Linked DNA regions of Homo sapiens: region 2 is linked to region 1. The links are contacts of gene promoters, found by promoter capture Hi-C in blood cells and fetal thymus (Javierre and others, 2016). All regions are on one chromosome and are shown on one strand. The core of a region is centred on a gene start or on the middle of the fragment in contact, and the rest is flanking DNA. Distances in the headings are between cores, read along the strand shown.

What was found. The method cuts DNA at HindIII sites, captures the fragments that hold promoters and counts their contacts. A CHiCAGO score of 5 or more calls a contact.
Region 2: a contact is called between a fragment that was not itself captured here and the fragment with the promoter of MCM2 in region 1, in 1 of 17 cell types (total CD4 T cells). The highest score is 5.2, in total CD4 T cells.

The regions. Positions count from the first base shown.
Region 1 is chr3:127,595,278-127,599,660 of GRCh38, reverse strand. It overlaps MCM2 (minichromosome maintenance complex component 2), which reads right to left and starts at 1,250. Exons shown (of 16, transcript NM_004526.4): 1 at 1,189-1,250; 2 at 114-343. The coding sequence starts at 1,194. It also overlaps a transcript of TPRA1 not described here. RefSeq lists a silencer at 952-1,111 and enhancers at 1,142-1,261, 615-1,572. The HindIII fragment of the contact is 9,465 bases long and covers 1-3,762 here.
Region 2 is chr3:126,675,915-126,680,454 of GRCh38, reverse strand. No RefSeq gene overlaps it. Among named protein-coding and RNA genes, the nearest start is that of TXNRD3, 23 kb to the right of the region's middle. RefSeq lists enhancers at 1,359-1,458, 974-1,580. The HindIII fragment of the contact is 2,343 bases long and covers 1,549-3,891 here.

The DNA of each region.
Region 1 (4,383 bases), core at 1-2,500:
AGGCAAGAATGCCATCGATTCATCTGCTCCCAGCTCCCAAAGCCAGGCCACCAGGCACACAATGGGCTCTCTGCAAAACTATCTGCTGAGTCCAGGGCCTTGAATGAAATTACCTTTCCATGCCATCTCCAATGAGCTCCTCTCCATCCTCTTCTTCCTCCAGGGGCCCCTCTGTGCCTAGGAGCCCCTCGGACTCATCCTCAAATGGTGGAAGGTCACGGCCAGGGCTGGAGGTGAGGGCATCAGTACGCCGGGAGCTTCGGCCAGGGCTGGAGGTGAGAGGATCATTGCCTCGCCGACGCTGGGCCGGGCTGGATGCCATGGTGAAGGATTCCGATGATTCCTGCAAGAGAAGGTGCGGTTGTCAGAAACCTAGGAAGCTGGTGAGGCATGATACAGCTTCCTTTTTACCATCAGGGGCCTTCCCTTCTTTCTCTCCACCTGTGACTCTTGTCCTCCAACACACCAAACCCCTTCCAGCCTCCAGATCTTTGCCCTTGCTGTTCTCTCACCTGGAATGCTCTCAGCTGAGCAATCTGAGTCAGTGGCTTCCAAACAAATAGAAGCCAGCTCAAATATCGGGGTCACCCACATCACCGTGCTTTCTCCATGAAAAACCACTGAGGTTATGTCATTTGCCTATTTACCTGTTTACTGTCTATTATCTCCCCTTAAGCATTAGACCTATTTCAGCACACACAGTGCGCAAGGTATTGTGATAGAGATGGCATAGAAGAGCCACCAAAACAAGAGGTCTGGAACTCAGATGTGGAACAGACAGTATACAAGACAAAGGGACAAGAAGGTAATACAAAAGTAAGTGTAGTGTTTGGAACAAGGATCATTGGGAAATTAAAAAAAAAAAAAGTTTAAAGGAGTGTAGTGAAATGGGGGCCTGTCTTTTGTACGCTCAGCGCCACACAGATGGCGCCCAATAAGTATGTGTGGGGTGAATAAAGGACAGAGGCTGAACGGGCCGAGCTCGCCTTAGGGAGCCCAGGGCCCCAGGTCAGTGGTAGGTAGGCGAGTCGCCTCACGCAGGGTGCAGGCGAGAAAGTAGCTGCGCCCCAGAGCCTGGGGCCCAGCCTCACCCAGAGCGCCGCCCTGGGCCGGGGCCAGAGTACGGGAAGCGCGCAGCCTCCGCACCCATGTCCCCGGCGCCCGCCCGCCACGCGCCAGCGCGCTCACCGCCATAGCAGTACCACGATCCTCTCCGCCACTACAGCAACAACCAGGTTTCGCGCGAAAAGTGGTTCACGTGACCCACCAAAGCCCGGGAAGAGCCCTACGGAACGCGACGTCATGACGTCGGCGTCCACTGGCGACCAGAAGGGACACGGAGGGGCGGGCCAGAGGGTCCGGTCCCGCCTACAACGCCCGAGGCGCTCCGCCCAGAGCCCGGAGGTGTGCGGCCCGGCGCTGTGCGCGTGCGCTCGCCTGCGCTGTGGTGGGAGCTGGAGCGGAGGTAGAAGCTGAGGCTCCAGGGGACCCGACGACACTTGCTGGCTGCGTGACCTCGGTCACACCAGGGCCATTTTGCTGACAAGACAACAGAGGCCGGGCGCGGTGGCTCACGCCTGTAATCCCAGCACTTTGGGAAGCCGAGGTGGGCGGATCACAAGCTCAGGAGTTCGAGACCAGCCTGACTAACATGGTGAAACCCAGTCTTTACTAAAAATACAAAAATTAGTTGGGCATGGTGGCACGGGCCTGTAATCCCAGCTACTCGGGAGGCTGAGGCAGAAGAATCGCTTGAACCTGGGAGGTGGAGGTTGCGGTGAGCCGAGATCCCGCCACTGCACTCCAGCCTGGGTGACAGAGTGAGACTCCGTCTCAAAAAAAAAAAAAGACAGCAGAGGTTCAGAGCCTGGTTTTCTGACGCTTCTTACCGTCTTAGGAGCACAATGGTTTAACTTCTCCCAAAGCTCAAAGGCTCAATACTTCAAGCAGCTGGACAACTCTGGGATTTTGTAGGAGGTCACATCTGAGGCTTTAGTAGGAGTTATCTTTGCCCAGGGGAGCGAAGACGCAGGGAGGATGTTACAGATAGAAGGATGCCATGTGCAAAGCTGCAGAGGTCATGGCAGGGCCCGGATGTGCAAGCCCCTCCCTAAGAACTAACCCTAGGAGCTTATGATGCCGGGCAACAGACAAGACTTGAGGGAGAGAAAATCCGGATCAAAAAAGAGCTAGATGTTTTTCTAGAGAGTTTGACTATTCTGTATTCTGAAAGCAATGGAAGGCCATGGAAGCATTTTGAGCAGGGTGAGACGTGAACTAGTGTGGGTTTTAGAATCCCTCTGGCTGCTACCAGGTGGAAGTGGATTGAACGAGGTTGAAGGCAGCAAACGAGGAGGTTGCTGTGGTTCTTGTCTAGTTCCAGGCAGCCTTAGTGAGCAGAGGCAGGGCTGAATCGCAACCCTCTTAGCCAGGCACTTTGTGCAGTGAACAAGCATCTCTGCCTGGGACCCAGGGTAGGGAGGCAGGAGTGATGGAGAGAACTGGAAATACAAGATGTTTAGGAGGTGGAATCTTTTTTTTTTTTTTGAGACAGAGTCACTCTGTCACCCAGGCTGGAGTGCAGTGGTGCAACCTCAGCTCACTGCAACCTCCACCTCCCAAGTTCAAGCGATTCTCGTGCCTTAGCCTCCCGAGTAGCTGGGATTAGAGATGCACGCCATTGTGCCCGGTTAATTTTTGTATTTTTAGTAGAGATGGGATTTCACCATTGTTAGCTAGGCTGGTCTCCAACTCCTGACAAGTGGATCCGCCTGCCTTGGCCTCCCATAGTGCTAGGATTACAGGCGTGAGCCACCACGCCCGGCCAGGAAGTGGGGTCTATAGGTGTTGGTGATTGAGGACAGCAAAAGAGGCATGCAGGATGACACCAGGATCCTGGCTTAGCTAGGTGGATGATAGCTGAGATAGGAGCGCACAGGAAGACCAGCAATTTAAGGGGGAAGAAGATGAGTTTGTTTCTGGCTGTGCTGAATTTGGGCCGAGGGGACATATCCAGGAAGCTGTTGGATATCCATGTATGGGACTCAAGGGCGTGTTTGGACTGAAGCTGTAGATTGCCTTGGGAGTGGTTGTATAATCCAGAGTGAGTGCAGGGAGATGAGAAGGTCTAAGCCTGGGACCTGGGAAACCCCAACAGTTAAGAGACACCAACAAAGGATGTGAAGGATGCACCTCGGATGCTAGGAGCTGCTGACAGGAAAGCTGAAGAGACTCTGCATGGGCTTGTGTTATCTATTGCTGCATAAAAAATTATCCTGGGATGGCCAGGCATGGTGGCTCACACCTGTAATCCCAGCACTTTGGGAGGCTGAGGCAGGTGGATCACCTGAGGTCAGGAGTTCAAGACCAGCCTGACCAACATGGAGAAACCCTGTCTCTATTAAAAATCCAAAATTAGCCAGGCGTAGTGGCGCATGCCTGTAATCCCAACTACTCAGGAGGCTGAGGCAGGAGAATCACTTGAACACTGGAGGTGGAGGTTGCGGTGAGCCGAAATTGTGCCATTGCACTCCAGCCTGGGCAAAAAGAGCGAAACTCTATCTCAAAAAAAAAAAAATTATCCTGGGATTTAGCACCTTGAAGCAATTAGCACCCACTGTCTCGGTGTCTGTGGATCAGGGATCTGGACACGATGCCACTGGGTGCCTCTTCTTCAAGGTCTTTCAAGGCTGCAGGCAAGGTATTGGCCAGGGCTGCTGTCTCCTCTGAAGGCTCATCTTCAGGAGGATCCCCTTCCAAGCTTCTTCACATGATAGGATTCAGGTCCTCATAGGCTGTTGGACTGAAGACTTAGTTTCCCACTGGCTCTTGGGTGGGGGCCTCTCTACAGAGCAGCTTACAACCTGGCAGCTGGTTTCTTTCAGAGCAAGCGAACAAGAGAGAGAGGCCATACAAGACAGATGCCATGTCTTGGAAGTGATATTCCTTTACTTTTGCCATATTCTCTTAGCGAGAAGTGAGTCCTGAGGTCCGGCCCACACTGAAGGAGAGGAGATCCTAGCAGGGCTGGGGATTATCAGGAGCCCTCCCAAAGGCCACTGAAGAGAGCAGTCAAGATGGTGGATGGGGTCAGCTGGCTGCCCAGAGGTCATCTGATAAGGACTAGGAGCTGTTAGTGGCCCTGGCGATAGCAGATCTGGGCTGGCCGGTGTGTCTGGAGTCAGACACTACATTGAAGTGTGTTGACAGGTAGGATGCAGGGAAGTGAGAAGGGTGAATGTGAGTTACTAGTTGGAGGCTGGAGTGCTTTTATGTCACCCAAAGATGTATGGGTCAGAGAGGCATTCCCAGGTGTGGAATGGACTGTGAGAGCTGGGACAGGCACTGGAGTGGGATATGGCTTTTTCTCAGATGAGAGGTTCT
Region 2 (4,540 bases), core at 1,471-3,970, 920 kb after region 1:
AAGTGGAATAATCAAGTTACTCAGCTCCCAGTGACTCCTAGTTTCTGATCTGTCTCCAGATATCAGAACTTGCAGAAACCGGTTGCACCTCCAATAACTACTACTCTGCAGCTTTTACCAGCAGACAATACCTTTGCCGTGGAGGAATAAAATGCATTCTTATAGGTTACGTGGTTTCTGCAAGTGAATAGTAACCAAATCTGAGAGGCCAATGTGCCGGCCCCAGTTTTATGGGACCTTGATGGAGTTCCTGGGAGGAGAAGGAAAGAAGCTGTGGGCTGCCGAGGGCCCCATGCTGCCCCTGCTTCCCTCCTGCAGGCATCCTTCTCACCTTCCTGCCCTCTCTCACTCCATCCCATCTCCCTCCAGTGCCTCTCCCCACTTCCAGTTCTGCATCCCTCCTGCCCACTCACTAACATGAGGGCTCCCCCAGGTCACAGCTTCCCTGGGCCTTAGTTTCTGTAAAATAGGGATAATTAAGGTAGAGAATCTACAGAGAATCAGAGGCAGATGTGAGGCTTCAATGAGTTCCAGCTGCAAAGCGCTTAGCTTTGTTAGTTTCTATGGTTCCCTTTTAGGAGGATGCCTTCGGAGCCTCTCACACTTCCGAAGCCTCACCCTGCCTTCGGCCCATGGTGAGTTTTAGTCGTGCCCCCAGGACATTCCTTAAGAGCAGCGTTGGGTTCTCCTGTCCCTCTTCATCCCTGCATCCACAGCAGGCATTTCTGCCCGGCTTTATAGTTCATAGAGTGTGTTCTTATTCATTGCCTTGTAATCTGTGTCATCCTCCTTATTTTAAGAGGAAATCAAGACCTGGAGGTGGAGGCACCGAGCTGGAACACAGCTCCCCTGGGAACCACTCTGGGCAGGACTGGCCGGCCCTGGAGGTGCTGGGTCCCTGTGGGTGGCCGACTGACAGTGCCTGGGAGGCACGTGCCCCGTCCCCGTCGCCTGCGCGGGTCAGTGGGCAGCCCAGGCCAGATCCTCTGAAAGGAGACCTCGCATTGTCTGTTTCCCAAGAAGCCGCAGTGCCACCTCGCGGCCGCCTTCAGAAGTGCATGCTGCGATCTGGCGCTCTGAGAAGCCCTGTGGGGAGGTACCTGCGTCCAGCCCAAGGGGCTGCCTGCCTGGCCCGCGAGGAAGAGCGCGTTCCTGCCGGGCCCACGCAGCTGAAAGTGGAAATGGGTTCTGTAGAATGTTTCGGCGTGCACCGAATTCGCGCAAGAATCCTCTACTGATGCCAGGCCCTGTGCCCAGGGATGGGGTGGGGGCGGTGCAGAGAAAGGACCGTGGGGTGGTGCAGAGAAAGGACCGTGGGGTCGTAGAGAGGAGTGCCAGAGGCCTTAGCTCTAAGGGGTGCGGGAATCGGAGAGGCAGAGGCCAACCAGAGGACCTCTTCGTGAGGCCAGCTGTCATGAGTGCTAGGATCCGAGCAAAGGGCCGAGTCCAGCTGCGCACACAGAGGGGCCCATCTCCTGCCACATGGTTTCCTTTCGTCCTCCCGCTTGCTCCGATTAACAGGCATCCTGCATCTTGGGCGTACAAGCTTCCCGGCCGCGCAAGTTGTTCAAGAACCCCAGAGGCAGGTGTTTCCGGGAGGCTCTAAGCCGACAGCTCTTTGAATGCCTGGCTGCTCACAGGGCCTGAGCCTCTGCCACACCCTGTTTAAGAACCCGAGGCTGCACGGCTGCTCAGGCCACCCCCAGCCAGACTCTGTCCTTCTCTTGCAGAGAGGTACACTCTGGGGCCTGGCCACCCTTCCCGCCGGGGGCCTCTCTGAGAGCCTCTGGCTCCAATAAAAGAAGGGAACAGAGTCCCAAATCCCTTTTTTCTGGCAGGCTCTTGGCCGTTGGGTGAATTTGCCACCCCCTTCTCCCTGACGTTGTGTATTAAGGATTCTTTGGAAGGGCAGACATTTCCAAGTCAGAGAAAGCGAGGGTCAATCTGCACCCTTTCTCAAAAAAAGCAGTGACGGCCTGCCTTGCATTTATACAATTTAAGGAGATTCCAGAGATAATAAGGCGAGTCTGTTCCAAGGTGACTTAAGGTCTCCATTTGCAGCCAAGGGAGCAGCTGGCATAATTCTAAGTTTCCGCCTGAGCAGGCACTTCCATTACCCTCAGAACCTCCATGCTTGGTTTCTGGAAAGATCAACTTCAGCAAAGAAGCGGGCGCGGGTGGGGAGCTAGCTCTTCCTTCCCTTGACAGCCTCAGTTGGAGACCTCGGCTGCCACCACGTGCCACAGTGGGAGAGTTTCCCGTCCAATGCTCTGCTCCAGCGATGTACTGGATTCCAGCCTGGGACCACCCAGAGACTTCGTTATATGTGGAATATAGGGAAATGAACACGGCAATGTCTGCACCACACAGAAGGTCTAGATTTCTCATCTGGAAAATGGTCCATTTCTGCCCGGGTCACAGAGGAAAAAAAGATCTGGCTGGGTGCAGTGGCTCATGCTTATAATCCTAGTGCTTTGGGAGGCTGAGACAGAAGGATGGCTTAAGGCCAGGGGTTCTAGACCAGTCTAGGCAACATAGTGAGACCCTGTCTCTACAAAAAAAGAATCAGACAGTTGCAGTAGCATGTACCTGTAGTTCTAGCTACTTGGAAGGCTGAGGTGGGAAGATTGCTTGAGCCCAGGAGTTTGAGGCACCAACGAGCTGTGATTGCATCACTGCACTCCAGGCTGGACAACAGAGTGAGACTCTGTCTTGAACAAAAATAAAGGAAAGAAAAGAAAAGAGATCCCACGTGGTAAGAGAAGTAACTTTTTGCTACCTTTAAAAAATCCTTATTTTCCGTCCCCATGGTAGGTTGTTTACAACAGTGGCCATGGTTTTGCAGCCCTCCTTGCATATGTGTCCTCAGCCCGGTGACTGTGCAGTAACTCCTGAGAAGATGCAGAGTGCATTTCTCAGCCCTTGGATCTGAGCTGGCCTGTGACTCACTTTGGTGCACAGAATGTGGCAGAAGTAAGGGGATTCAGGTTCTGAGGCTAGGCTGTAACAGCCATTGCATGCTTCCTCTTCCTTTCAGATCTCTGGGCTAGCCTGCTAGCCACTCAGAAAGATACCACTCAGCAGCAGCGGAGCCATCCCAGATGCTGATGTGTAGCTGATACCCAAGTGAGCCCTGCTGAGTCCGGCTCAGATGATCAGAAGCATCCTGCCAGCCCACAGACTCATGAGCAGTACTACACGGTTGTTATTTGAACCTACTGAGCCTTGGGGTGTTTTGTCACACAGCAACAGCTAACTGGTACCCCTGCTCACCTCCTTTCTTCTGCTTCTTCCTTCATTCTTCTGTTCCTGGACCTGATCAAGGTCATCCATCTGGGTAGTTACATGTCTGTGGGTTATTTCTCCACCATCTGCCCTTGGGGGCTGGGTGTTGGGAAGGCAGCCTGCTGGAAAGTCACCCTTGCAGACCCTGGAAATAAGCTGAGGATAGGCTCTGCTGGGCAAACTCCCCCCACCAAGGAGGAGAGGCTGCTCTATAGTCTCTGGTTTGTTCCTGGACAATTCGCTCCTTCTCTTTGGATCAGTCACTCTCTAACTGCTATTTGGCTGTCACCCAAGGACTGCTACTCCTTATCCTTCTGGGATGGACTCACTTTCTTCTTGGAGCCCTTCCTCAAGGTGCATCCCCTTTTTGGTGGAGAGAAACCCCAAATAATTTCTCAAAATGTGTGCAAGGTCAACCTTGAGTCCTTTCAGATCTGAAAAGATCTATTTGCCTTTAAACATTGGCTTGTCCTAGATGTATAGGTTCAAAATTCCTTTCCCCCAGAAATTTGGAGACAGTCCTCACTTTCTTCTGGCAGCCTGAGTACCTGATGAGGCAGCTGATGCCAAAATGTCCCTTCCCTGCATCCACCTATTTTGGAAGCTTGTAGGATATTTCCACTATTCTTGATATTCTGGAATTTTGTGCTGATGTCCCATGGGCCTTTTTTTATTCATTATGCTGGGCATTTGAGTTCCCTTCAAACTGAAGACCCAGGTGCTTCAGTTCTGGGAAATTGTCTTCTATTATTATATTATTATTTTACTATTTATGCCCCTTTCTCTCTGTCCTCTATTTTTGAGTCTATTAGGCATTTCAACCTCATGGATTGATTTTCTTGGTTTCTTATATTTTCTCTCATTTTTTAAAACCTTTTTACCTAATTGTCCCATACTGTGGGAAATTTTATTATACATATAGAGATAGATATATATGCACATGTGTGTATACAAATAAATGTGTATATGTATTTTTTTCAAATATTACTATAATATTACAAGTAACAGAAAAATGCAACATAAGATGCTTAAATATGTATATACATACACACACACACACACACACACACACATATACACACACACATTTTGACAATAATACTTCAAATTTACAAGAGTTATTTTCTGGCTTTGTAATTGCTTCTTCTCCATAGCATCCTATTCTTGTTTTATGTATTCAATATCTTCTTTTTTCACAGCTTCAAGATACAATTCACATACCATACAATTCACCCATTGAAAGTGTACAACTCAA